2 separate regions of the Homo sapiens genome follow, and region 1 is linked to region 2. Evidence: promoter capture Hi-C in human tissues and cell types (Jung and others, 2019). All regions are on one chromosome and are shown on one strand. The core of a region is centred on a gene start or on the middle of the fragment in contact, and the rest is flanking DNA. Distances in the headings are between cores, read along the strand shown. Region 1 overlaps SPTLC3 (serine palmitoyltransferase long chain base subunit 3). Region 2 holds the start of SPTLC3 (serine palmitoyltransferase long chain base subunit 3).

What was found. Contacts are between HindIII fragments. The study calls those that stand out against the background at their distance.
Region 1: a contact is called between a fragment that was not itself captured here and the fragment with the promoter of SPTLC3 in region 2, in 1 of the 25 tissues and cell types used here (spleen).

Annotation. Positions count from the first base shown.
Region 1 is chr20:13,040,226-13,046,664 of GRCh38, reverse strand. The region is part of intron 1 of SPTLC3 (serine palmitoyltransferase long chain base subunit 3); the gene reads right to left. Among named protein-coding and RNA genes, the nearest start is that of SPTLC3, 34 kb to the right of the region's middle. The HindIII fragment of the contact is 7,484 bases long and covers 1-6,439 here.
Region 2 is chr20:13,005,947-13,011,885 of GRCh38, reverse strand. It overlaps SPTLC3 (serine palmitoyltransferase long chain base subunit 3), which reads right to left and starts at 2,914. Exons shown (of 12, transcript NM_018327.4): 1 at 2,502-2,914. The coding sequence starts at 2,618. The HindIII fragment of the contact is 14,727 bases long and covers 1-5,939 here.

The sequences.
Region 1 (6,439 bases), core at 1,616-4,115, 35 kb before region 2:
TCTGCACTTGAACTTTAGACTACATCGATCTCCACAATTCCAGGTGACTTCCTGGCCCAGTTAAGACCCACCTCCCACATCCTTCTGCATCACAGGGACACAAAATTGGCTTCCTTGCTGGATTTGTCCAGACTCTAGCAAAAGGGACTCAGAGTCTCATGAAGGAAGACATGTTGGAACTTCTACTGATTAGATATGAAGTCAAGGAAGAGGAAAAAGAAAACTATCTGCAAGGAGCAGTATAGTATTGTTGATAAGAAGAAAGAAGGACTTGGAAGGAGGGCTGCTTTTTGGAGAGAAGACATGAGTCTGTACAGAACATGCTAATTTGGGGGTGGTGATTGCCTGCATAAATTCCCAGAGCACTGAGGAATGTAGGAGAAAAGGAAGACCCTGACTGAGTCAATTACTACGGGCCACAGTTTAAGTCATGGTTGAAGGTGAATGCGATAAGGTACAAATCATAAAGAGGGAAGAGCAGTAGGCTTGGGACAGAATTTGTGGATACAGTGCTTTTTCCGGTACCACAGAAGAAAAAGGGTGAATAAAGGGAACCCAGTGTGGGTGACCTCAGAACCTTAATTTAACCTGCTTGCAAATTAACCCCTTTGGCTGACTTAGAGAATGGCTAAGTTATGTGGGTGTACATAAAGACAGAAAATGTGAGGACATTCAAGTCCAACCCATGGCAATCAGCAGGTTTTCTCTTCTTCCTTTCCTGGCCCCATCTTCATTTCTGAGCTTCACCTGTAACCAAATCAAGTGGTGCTTTTCTCTTGAAATCCATAGGCAGTTTCTGCTTGAATTGGCTCTGAGGCAACCCTGCACTGTACATCACAGATGGTCTACCTAGATGCAAATAAAACCCTCAGTTGGTTGCACAGACTGGGCCTATATGTAACTATTTACTTGCCCCTGTGACTTGTTCTGGAAGCAAGTAATAACACAAAGGAGAAAATTTCAAAAATGTCCATCAGCCCAAACCAGGATCTATTTTCCTCTCATATAAATAGATACATTTTAAATTTAATGTCACTTAATTAATTTTATTTGGCAGAGGAAAAATGAGATATCTTCACAGAGAAAAAAGCTATCTGGAAATGTATTGGTCTCCTTAAGAGATAGCTAGTGACTCACTTACTATATTCTTTTACTTATAATTGAAGTCAGTCACACCTCCCAGGAGGAATTCCTCAATCTGTTGTTGGATAGTTATTTTGAAATATAAAATTTCATCCTATCAAAGTAAATGAAGCATAAAATCTTGCTTAATAAGTTTGCATTTATTAAGCACTTGTTATTACTGCAGATAAGCATTGTTATTTGTAATACACTTTGGCTTGTTCTACCTTTTCTTTCGCAGCCTTAAAAATAAACAGACCCTGAGCCACATTGCCTACAGTATCTAGTCGTTTGGGATGATGTGACATCCTGGGGTTTGTTTACTTCCTGCGCTTCTGTCATATCTGGAAATAAACTGGGTGCTGGAATATGCAGGGAGCCCTTTACAGACAATTACTCTTCTGTTCAATAGGTAGCTCTTTTACTGGCTGTCCTAGGCTAACATTAGAGGAGATATGAAATCAATAAATACAGTATGTTTTCCCCAGAATTGATAGTGCAGTAGGGTGTGTGTGTGTGTGTGTGTGTGTGTGTGTGTGTGTGTGTGGTGGGGACACAAATGACCATAATGTAGAGCAAAATGTGAATGTCAAAGGATGATGCAAATGAAGGGACCACATCACACTGGGTGATCAGGAGTGATTCTTGAGGAGGTTGAACTGGAGTCTGGTGTTGCTGGGTTGTCGAGCATAACAATGAAGATGATTTGCTCAGGGGTCAGACTTTCCTTTGCTGCCTGTGTGACCTTGTGAAAGTCACTTAATTTTTCGAGGCCTCAAATGTCTCCAGTGCTAAGTGGGGCTAGTAAAGGTCACTTTTGAAAATTAAGTGAGATAGTATATGCAGGTTACCTGCTACAATACAAAAACTCATTAAATGTTACGATTTTTGTTAAATATTCTGAATAGAGATGATAGATGAAAACTATTAGAATGGATAATGCTGCTTTTAGAGACATATTTGAGAAAAAAGAGAAAGACAATATTTTCTCTCGGTCATATATATTGACCAAGGATATATATGGCTTCCTTGCTGGATTTGTCCAGACTCTAGCAAAAGGGACTGAGAGTCTCACGAAGAAAGACAGGAGACCAAGGATATACATTGACCTAGGATATATTGATCAAGAATATAATGTATCAGCTGGGCGCTGTGGCTCATGCCTGTAATCCCAGCACTTTGGGAGGCCGAGGTGGGTGGATCACCTGAGGTCAGGAGTTCAAGACCAGCCTGGCCAACATGGTGAAACTCTGTCTCTACTAAAAAATACAAAAATTAGCCAGGTGTGGTGGCAGGCACCTGTAATCCCAGCTACTCAGGAGGCTGAGGCAGGGGGAATTGCTTGAACCCAGGAGGCAGAGGTTGAAGTGAGCCAAGATTGCATCACTGCACTCCAGTCTGGGTGACAGAGCAAGACTCCATCTCAAAAAAAAAAAAAGAAAAAAAAGAAACAAGACAAAAGAATATAATGTATCAATACCTAGGGAGAAGAGGGAGAATGAGGGTCCTCTAAGGAGACAGCAAGTGGGAGAGGGAGGAAGAGGTGAGGGACTGAAGAGTGACACTAAGTTGAGATATAGAAGTTCAACAAGACCATTGTATATGGGGACTCTCACAAGAAAACTTGAGTAAGTAATCTTATCAACCTGTTATCCCTGCAATTTTATCAGACTGCAGGGACTTAAGGAGAGAGAGAATGTGAAGGCAATGGGACAGGGAGCTGAGATGACTTATTAAAGAAGTATAGTGGTAGGGAAGAGGACAGAGAGAAGGTGGTGACTTCGGTTACTAATAGTGAGGGGAGTTGCTTATTTTGCAATAAAGACTGAGTGTATATAGGAGCTTAGAAAAATATTTAATAGATTAAGCATAATTGTAGATAAAGGTAAGAGACAGTATAATTCCTGGAACACGACCCCTTGAGGGAGACAGGATGAAGAGCACATGTGACTGTCCTGGCCACAGGGACGCAGACTATCTCAGTAGCACTTTGAAAAATGTGTGATGCAGTCACTTCTTGTGCTCTAGCTTTTTAGGGTATGATACAAAAGGATGAGCAAATCTAAAACCAACTTAATGCTGCCAATTCACCATCCATTCACAAACAGACTTTTGTTTTCAGAGTGAGGCAGCCCATGCAACATGACACATTCCATTACACTGCTAGGTTAGTCCTTGAAAAGAAAAGTCAGGGTGAGAATGAGGAGGAAGAGGAGGCTTTCAGGCCTTAGTTGATCTACAAGGGCAGGAAGGTTGGGGATAAGATTGGCTCAGGGAGGATGAAATGGCAAAGGAAATCTAGAGCACTGGAGCTAACGAGAGGGCCATGTTCCTTTCTGAAATGGAACGTATTTGGGGTTTTCCACATCATGATCAAGATTGGCATAGATCCTTCTCTGAGGGAGAACACAAACTTCCAAGGATACTGGTGTTTAAGAATAAGTCTCTGCCTACATTGTAGCAGTTAGGTTTTGCGTAGGGAAACAGAACCACTGTGAGTGTTATAGAATAAGAGATTTACTTTAAACATTATATGGTGTTCAAACATAGGAGCCTGGTTAAAAATCTATGGAAGGTAGACTATTTCCCTGCTGGTGGCATAAAGAGCCTCAGAGATCATCTTCACAGTAGAAATAAAGCATAACTGGTAAAAATTATAAAAATATAACTTTTTAAAGTATTTGGACATTGTCTTAAGGGCATATAACAAATGAAGAAATATTTATTGAAGGAAATACACTAAATATCAAAAAAGAACACTGAGAGTCTGTGGCATTGAGCCATGACCTATTCTCTCCCTTTGTCTCCCAGTTCAGCAAGTAGAAACATTCTACTTTGAGCAGGTGGCCAAGATGAGGCTTCCTGTCCCCTGCTTCAGGCAAGGGTTATGGTATTTCTTTGAGAGGGGCAAGCTACCATCATTTCTTATCACTCTCAGTTCTGTTTTGCAGAGGCTAAATTCTGTGCAAGTGTGGCTGAGAGGTTGAGGGTTTACTTCCTCTAATGAACACCCACTGGTAGGGTAGAGACTCTATATCAGACATGGCATGCTGAGAATACTGGGGCCCCAATTACCCTTACTCCAGCACACTAGCAGGATAGAGGTTCCATGGTGGAAGAGGAAAGCCAAGAAAACCAGAAGGTATTGCCCCACCTAGAGCTACTATCCTTTCCCTAGCTCTGAAGCAGTGATTCATTGGCTTTGCCCAGTGGGAGAGAGAGCTCCAGAGCATTCCCCAAGATAACTTATTTTATTTGGCACAAAGAGTAGGGAAGTTCAAGATTAAAGGGTGCTCTGGAAAACAGTGGAGATTCTGGTGGCAAGCACTTTAGAAGAGACTGGTAACTCGGTAAAAGCAACAAGCTAATCTTCATGTAGGTAGTTCAGCCAGAGAGAATCAGGGAAATTGATAGCTATGAAGAGCCCTCTTAAGATCAGAATAAACCTCAAAGGCTAAACATACCAAGGATCATGAATTTAATTGGATTAGATTGTGAAGCAATTTATGCCGCAGGGCACTGTCAAAACCAATAGAGCAATCCGGCAGCAAGTAGTGGAGTGGAGACTCACAGTTGGGAGTGATACCAACAGAGGAAGATAGCTTTACAGAATGATTTGGGAAGGCACAGTCATATAGAAGCTTCCTAAAACCACTGTCACTTCAATGACATGCTGAAGTCTGCACTCTCTAAGTGGCAACCTTAGAGGTTTTACACTGTGAGGTAAATATACTTTATGAAAATAGCTCATCTAAGTCACTAAAAAAATAAGCAAACACAACAAAGACAATCCTCTAGTGGGGGCGGGGGAGGGCAGTGATTAGTATTCAGAGTTGTACAATTTATTTAAAATGTTCAGTTTTAAGCCAAAAATATGAGTCATGTAAAGAAACAGAAAAATGTGATCTACATAAGAACAACAGATATTGCTTATGAGAAGGACCAAGATGTTGGACTTAGTAAATACAGCCACGTGGCTATTACAAATATATATAAAGAACTAAAGGAAACCATGTTAAAGGAGTAAAAGAAGGTATGATGGCAATGTCTTATCAAATAGAAAATATTTATAAAGAATAGAAATTACAATAAAAAGAACCAAGTGGGAATTCTGAAATCGAAAAGTGTAATAACAGAAACAAAAACTTACTAGAGGGGCTCAATAGCAGATTTAAACTGGAAGACCAAAAAATTAGAAAACTTTAAGATAGAGAAGGGGAATTTGTGCAATACAAAATACAAACAAACAAAAAAACCAGAGGAAAAAAATAAAGACAAATGAACAAGGCCTCTGAAACATGTGGGATACCGTTGAGTACACCAACATATACACAATATGAGTGTTAGAAAGAGAGGAGAGAAAAAGGAACAGAACAAACATTTCAATAAATATTGGCTGAAAACTCCCTAAATTTGATGAAAAACATTAATCATACCTATGGAAGCTTAATGATATCCATTTGAATAAAGGCAAAGAGATCTGTTATCAGACATATTATAGTAAAAATGTTAAGAGACAAAGAGAAAATCTTAAAAGCAGCAAGAGCCAAACAATTGATCACATAAAAATGAACCCCAATAAGGTGAACAGCTTTCTTTGGAGTAGAAAAAAATGGAAGCCAAAAGGCAGTGGGATGACATATTCAAAATGCACAAATATTTTAAGAAGTCAACCAATAATCTTATGTTGGCAAAACTAGCCTTCAAAAATGAAGGCAAAATAAAGACACTTCAGGATAAACAAAAACTGAAAGAATCTGTTAATAGCAGACCCACCTTTCAAGAAGTACTAAAGGGAGGTCTTCAGACTGAAAGCAAGTGACTTCAGACAATGATTCAAATCCAACCAAAAAAAAAAAAGGGGGCACAGGCAAAGGTGATTATGAAATTATTAAAGTGGCTCATGCCTGTAATCCTAACACTTTGGGAGGCCAAGGCAGGTGGATCACGAGGTTAGGAGATCGAGACCATCCTGGCCAACATGGTGAAACCCTGTCTCTACTAAAATACAAAAATATTAGCCAGGTGTGGTGGCTTGCGCCTATGGTCCCAGCTACTTGGGAGGCTGAGGCAGGGGAGTTGCTTGAACCCAGGAGGTGGAGGTTGCAGTGAGCCGAGATTGCGCCACTGCACTCCAGCCTGGAGACACAGCAAGACTCCGTCAAAAAAAAAAAAGTATAAATACACGTTTCTTCCCTTCCCTTTACTACTATTAAATAATTTTAAAAGAAATTGTATAAAACAATATGTATAAATTCATTGTTGAACTTACATATATAGACATATATTATGCAATAACAGCACAAAGAAATTGGAT
Region 2 (5,939 bases), core at 1,665-4,164:
GAGAACAAATCCTCTAGTATGATAGTGTCCTGTTACAAGTAAAAGGTAGGAGGCCATGTTGGGAATAAACAAATAAATGGACTTAGTCAGTGATGAAAACCAGTTTTTGTGCATTCTCAGGACATATGAGGTTTAAAGAAAAAAAAAAAACAGGAAAAATAGTCAGGCTCCATAAAAGCTCCAGAAAGGAACTCTAGAAGGTTTCTAAGAATGGAAAGGCTCTGGTCCTTGCCAGCCTTGAGACTGGGGCAGCAAGCCTGCTGCAGGCTGGAGCAGGGATGGCAGCCTACGCTGGACCAGGGGGAAGGAGGACTCATGAGCACCGCCTAATAGTAATTTTCATATGTTTGTTATGCCAGGGAACCCTTTGTCAACAGAATCTTGTAGGGTCCCCTAATGTATAAAAGAGATAACTGTGTTGCTGTGTGGTTGCAAATAAGTGGGAAGAGAAAGGGTGGGAGGATCATTGGAGGGGCTGGTAGGATCTTAGATGCTGCGGCAGAAGACGTTAGGCCAGGCAGAACGTGTTTGGGAGACCAGCAGCCTAGGATTCTGTAAGCCTTTGCAGACTGCTTCTATCCACAGGCAAGGCTTTTGGTCTAGGCCTAGTTTGTTAAAGGGTCCCAAGGATCAAAACTGGTGGCAAAGGAACTTGAGAGTAAAGACAACTTCGTTCCCATCATGGAGGGGACAATAAGCCCTCGTTTGCCCTATTACACTATGATCTCAGCCGGGTTTTTTTTGTTCGTTTGTTTTTCTGAAAAATATTTTTTAAGCCATAATTGAGGCTCTCAATGAAAGCCAATTGTAGCTTAGTGACACCTAAATATGTCTGAGACAAGAGGCTCTGGATGGCCCTTCAGGAAGGCAACAGCAGCCCTGATGTTTTCGACCGTTCTTAGGGAAGCCTCAGTGTCCAAGGATATTTACAGTCTTGCAGCTGCACTTCATAATGAACCTTTAGAATCCTGGGTTTTATCCTTACTTAGGAGTGGTTATAACTGTCTAAGTTTCTAATCTCATACCTCGAATGTGATTATAAAACCAAGATAAAATAAATAAAAGGGAGAAAAGTTAAGAAGGAATCTCTTCCCAGATGAGATCCCTCAGGGTCAGAATAATCACAAGGGTAAGTAGATGAATAGCTTGTGAGTTACAGGCATTCCAGAGGCAAGGATCGTCTTGAGTAGTGGCCTGAATTGATATTTAGTGATGCATAAGTGGTGGATATTACTGCAATTTCCTTCATACAACTGACAGGAGTTGAGCACCTTCTCTTCACATTGCTCCAGGTTTCAGATCCTCAGGTGGGACAGGCCAGTTCTGAGGTTTCTGATAGACACCTCCCAGCGTTGGACAGTGCCTTTTGTTAAGAGGGGAATGCTTTTGGGGACCACAGCCTGTTTACACACAACTCAGGCTCTAGAGCTCCTTTAGCCTCTTCCAATTGCACACACGAATGTAATTCACTGAGAGGAGGACTGGCCCCAGCCAGACCCACCTGTCCTGTGATCTTAGAACAATCTGCCTTTCCTGTGGGTGGATACTTGCTCTCTGGATGATCAAATGATGGAAGATTGCATGGGGCTCCCTGTGCCACTTCTCTTTCCAAACAGGAGGCTACCTGTTTGACTACTTGGGCTTGCTCCTCAGGCAGATGAGCTCACTTCTGCTGCTCAGAGCAGAGTGACACGGGATGTCCTGTGGGGAGTGGGGAACTGCCTTACATAAGGACCTCACAGACCCAGGCTCTCTCTTAAAACAAGCTGACAACTTTCCTCGAGTTCCTCCTGCCTAGGACACTCTGCAAACATCCCGGTGCAATAAGAGTGAAAAAAAAAAAAAGTGTCAAGTTGGAAAATACAAGTTTGTTTTAAAGATGCTGTTCTGTTTTCTGAGAGCAGTGTGTCACAATCAGCCCTGCTTTCTGAAGTGTTTTGGAAAAGAATGTCTGTGACGTCACATTTCAAAGAAATACTGTGGCCTCAAATCAAGTAGTGAGCTAAAACAATGCTCCACTACACACCAATAATAACTCGCCTTTCAAACAGTGATGCATTTCTCATGGACCTGGGAAGAATGCCATCTCCACCACATAATGTCAGCAAAATGTACTTTCACTTCCTCTTTTTCTTCTGAAGCATGACGGTTGTAGCAGGTCTCTTGGACAAAAATATATGCAAAGAGTTGGAACTTTCTTAATTCTTCCCTCCCCGCAAAATGCTTGAGACAAAAGTCTAGTAGGTACATTTGTATTTTAGGGAGCCTGAAGCTGTGTGAGTCTGTGTGTATCCTCTTTTGCATACAGAAGACATTTTCTCCTTAATCCACACCTAAACTTTTTGGTAGCCAAGCACTTTCTATTAACAGAGTCAACAGTCAAAACATGTAAAAACCCTTCATAAGATGAACTCTAAGTTAGGACAGCCTCAAATATCTTCACAGAGAAATATTGAAACGTTCAGGTAATTCAGAGAAGAGTAGGGGAGAGTGCCTCTTACCTGGGCTTCCTTCACTATTCCATTCTTTGTGCAGTTTCTGCTTTGTGAGCCATTGCTCTGTTTCTTGTGATTGTGAAGTTTCCCGTTGCAAACAGCACCACCTCCAGGGTTAGCCATGGGTGTGAAGTGACAGAGCCCGGGACAGGTTTTCCTTCAGAGGTCTCTGCAGGCTTTAGTTTTCAGTCTGCGAGGGGATGGGATAAAGCTCTTTGGGGCTGAGCCCTTAAAGGAATCTTACCAATCAGGCTTTTCCAGAAGAAGAGCAACAGCCTATCTTTTTGTCAGATCGTTGAAACTAAAACAAATGGTTACCTTTATACTTCTCAACTCCCGTCAAAATGTGAACTCCATGGCAACAAACCTGCTTCCGAAACTGTAAAGGAGATTGTCCATGCTGGCTCCTTCTGGGGACTGAGGGAACCTGGGGACTGAACAACCCAGTGGCAAAGTGTGAGGAGGCGGGCTGGGAGGTGGAGAGTCTTTTAAAGACACACACACACAGCACACTCACAGAGTCTTCTAAGTAACTGAGTTCTGAGTTAACCTCTTTTTCCCACCCCCTCTCTCCTGCATGTAATTGTGGTTTTTGGTTGTAAACCAAGCTCAAAAGTTAATATTTCTTTTTGCTATAAAATAGCATTCAGAGGTGGTTGCCAGGGCCTGGAGGGATGAGGCAAAGGGAAGTTATTGTTTAATGGGTACAGAGTTTGAGCTGGAGCAGATGAAAAAGGTATAGTGATGGATCAGTGCACAACAATGTGAATGTACTTAAACTAAACTGTGCACTTAAAAATGATTAAAATGGTAAGTTTCATGTGATGTATACATTTCCATAATTTACAAATGATTTGAAAAGATTTTTAAAAACCCAGTATTCAAAACCAACCTATGTTAAAATCAGTACTATAATAAGGGGGTACCAATCCATCAAGAATTCCAGTAAGACAGATGTTGAGGAGACAGAATATTTGATGACTGCGTTATCTTTATCTCGTGACCTTGGGGGAGGTATTTACCCACTTTATGCCTCAGTTTTTCCATCTATAAAATATCTGCTGAGGTAGAACAAAAATCATGCTGTAGCTTGGGTTTGTTACTGACGCAGGTGTGAGGTGGTTGATGACTGCAGGGTCCCAGTCCTGAAACACATCTGGTTTACTCACTAACTCTTATTCTCTCAATGCATGAATCTTCAAGGCTTTGTTTCTTCCTACCATCATCAAATGGCATGGTGACATGATTTGCTGGAGAGTCATTACAACCTGTTGAGTCTTCCCAAGTCCACCCTTGTGGTTTTCCTGAGTCGAGACTTCTTTAGCATCAGACTCTAAGAAAAGAAACCAATTTATTGGGGCAGTAGACAAAAACAAACAATCAAACACACACACACAAACAAAAAGAAAGAAATGGCCCCTGTTTCCAGAGCCTCATGTCCTGTAACTCAGCTCCCTTGGACAGGGTTCAGTTCTACTCCAGATTAATGTAGCTTTTGGAGGTGGACATGCTAACGCTTCTCCTAACTATGACTTGCATATGAGGGTACCTGCCTTTACCATCCCAAGGAATGCTGGAGGAATAAGATAAGGCCTGAGGCCAAGGTGAAAGACGGAGTTAATACCAAGTGTGTTCAGCCCAGTTTGTGTCTCAAGTTCAAAAATTTTATCGCATTTCTCTCAACCTTTATCATCAAAGTAGAAGTAGATTTTCACTGGTCTCTCCCTTCCATGGCTGTTTCACTGAGATTTGGGGGCTAAACTCTTGTAGGTTTATTTTCTTCTAAGATTTAGGAAATGGAGAGATGAAGAGGTAGAGGGGAGCACTATTGTTGGCCCAACTGCCTCACGTTACTTAGAAAGACAAGTTGAAGAGAGGGCGTTATTTTCCCTGAGCTCTATTGCTCAGTGCAAAGCATTTTTTTAATAAAGATTTTGAAATAAAACTTTTTTAACATTAGATGTCTCTTTTCTTTCTTCTTTTCTTCTTCTCCATCTCTTTCCTCTTTTCACATTTGTCCTTTTCCCTTTCCTCCCCCACCCTCCTCTTCTTTTTCTTCTTCTTTTTCAAATTTTCTTTTTACAAGGGACAAAAGGTATATATAAAATAAATCTTAAAACACAGCTGAATTCTGCTTTCTCCGTTTCCTTCCCCTAATTGCAATTGCTAAGGTTAGGTAATCACACATAGATTTCTGAGAAATATCTACTACGTGCTCTCACTCTTGAAACTTTTCTATTTTACTTACCGTATTGGAATGTGTGCATTGTTGTGTGTACAAAATTATATTAACACACCAACCATTTGGCATCAGGCACTGCTGGTATGTATAGTCAGTGGTGACTCATTGCTTCATACCATCTCCAGTTAAAATAAGCGAAGAGTTCTGTTGAAGTCAGTGGTAGGTTTAGGTTTAAGGTTTGGAGCAATACTAAAACACAGACTAAATATTGAGCAAGATTTGGCATCTCTGAACAACTAAATACATTTTGGATCAACTAGTAACCTCAGAAAATGTTTGAATAAGTACTCTGTATTTGCTGAGTCCTTGGTTCTCACAAGGAATAAAACATACACAGTCTCCACCTTCACAGAACTAAGACTCAGCAGTACCCACATGCCTTCTACTTAGGATATCTTACTATTAAAGGTAGAAATAAATCTTCCCACTAGTACATTAAAGGCAAAGATGATAAAATTAGCAATGGCCTTGTGGTGTTCTCCAAAGTAATGGTTTTGCCCAGATGCCAGATTCTCAGCTCCTCTCTTAATGAAGCAGCCAAAAAGGGAGATAACAGAATGAGGATAGGCAAGAAAGGGAAGGACAGAGGCTTGGCAATGTGTTGTGAAAACGCTCTTGGAACAACTTGGGGATAGAGAGTTGGCAAAAATGGGAGGATATGAGCAGAATGAACTGTCAGAATTGTACAGTGTACAGAAATCTGTTCATTCTCAGTGACTCAAGTTTTACCCATGTAATGGAGAGTGATGCTCATGCAAAACTAAATTTTCAACAGGTTAAGTGACTTTTCCAAAGCCACAGAATAATATGTGGTAGAAGTGGGTCATGAACTCAAGAATGTCTGGGTCTAAGTGAGTGCCGTTTTCCTTACACCATGACACCTCTCCTTCAGCTGTTGACTTGAGAACCATCAACCACCAAGAAAAGAAATAACAGAATCTGTTATTATTTGGGAGATTTCATTGGATTGGCCAAATAATGAATAAAAATGCTTTATTTGCTTTTTGATGTTTAAAAATTTGCAATATATTAAATTTTTTTACAAATGACTAATGACATGTCAATATCTACTAATAAGTCTACGTGGAAGTACTTAAATTTCCCGAAGAGTTCAATCTGGAAAAATTCTCATCGTAGAGACCATTCATTTCCATAGATTTCCCCATGAATAGGTTGTAAACGTGATGACCTAAGAAGGCCAG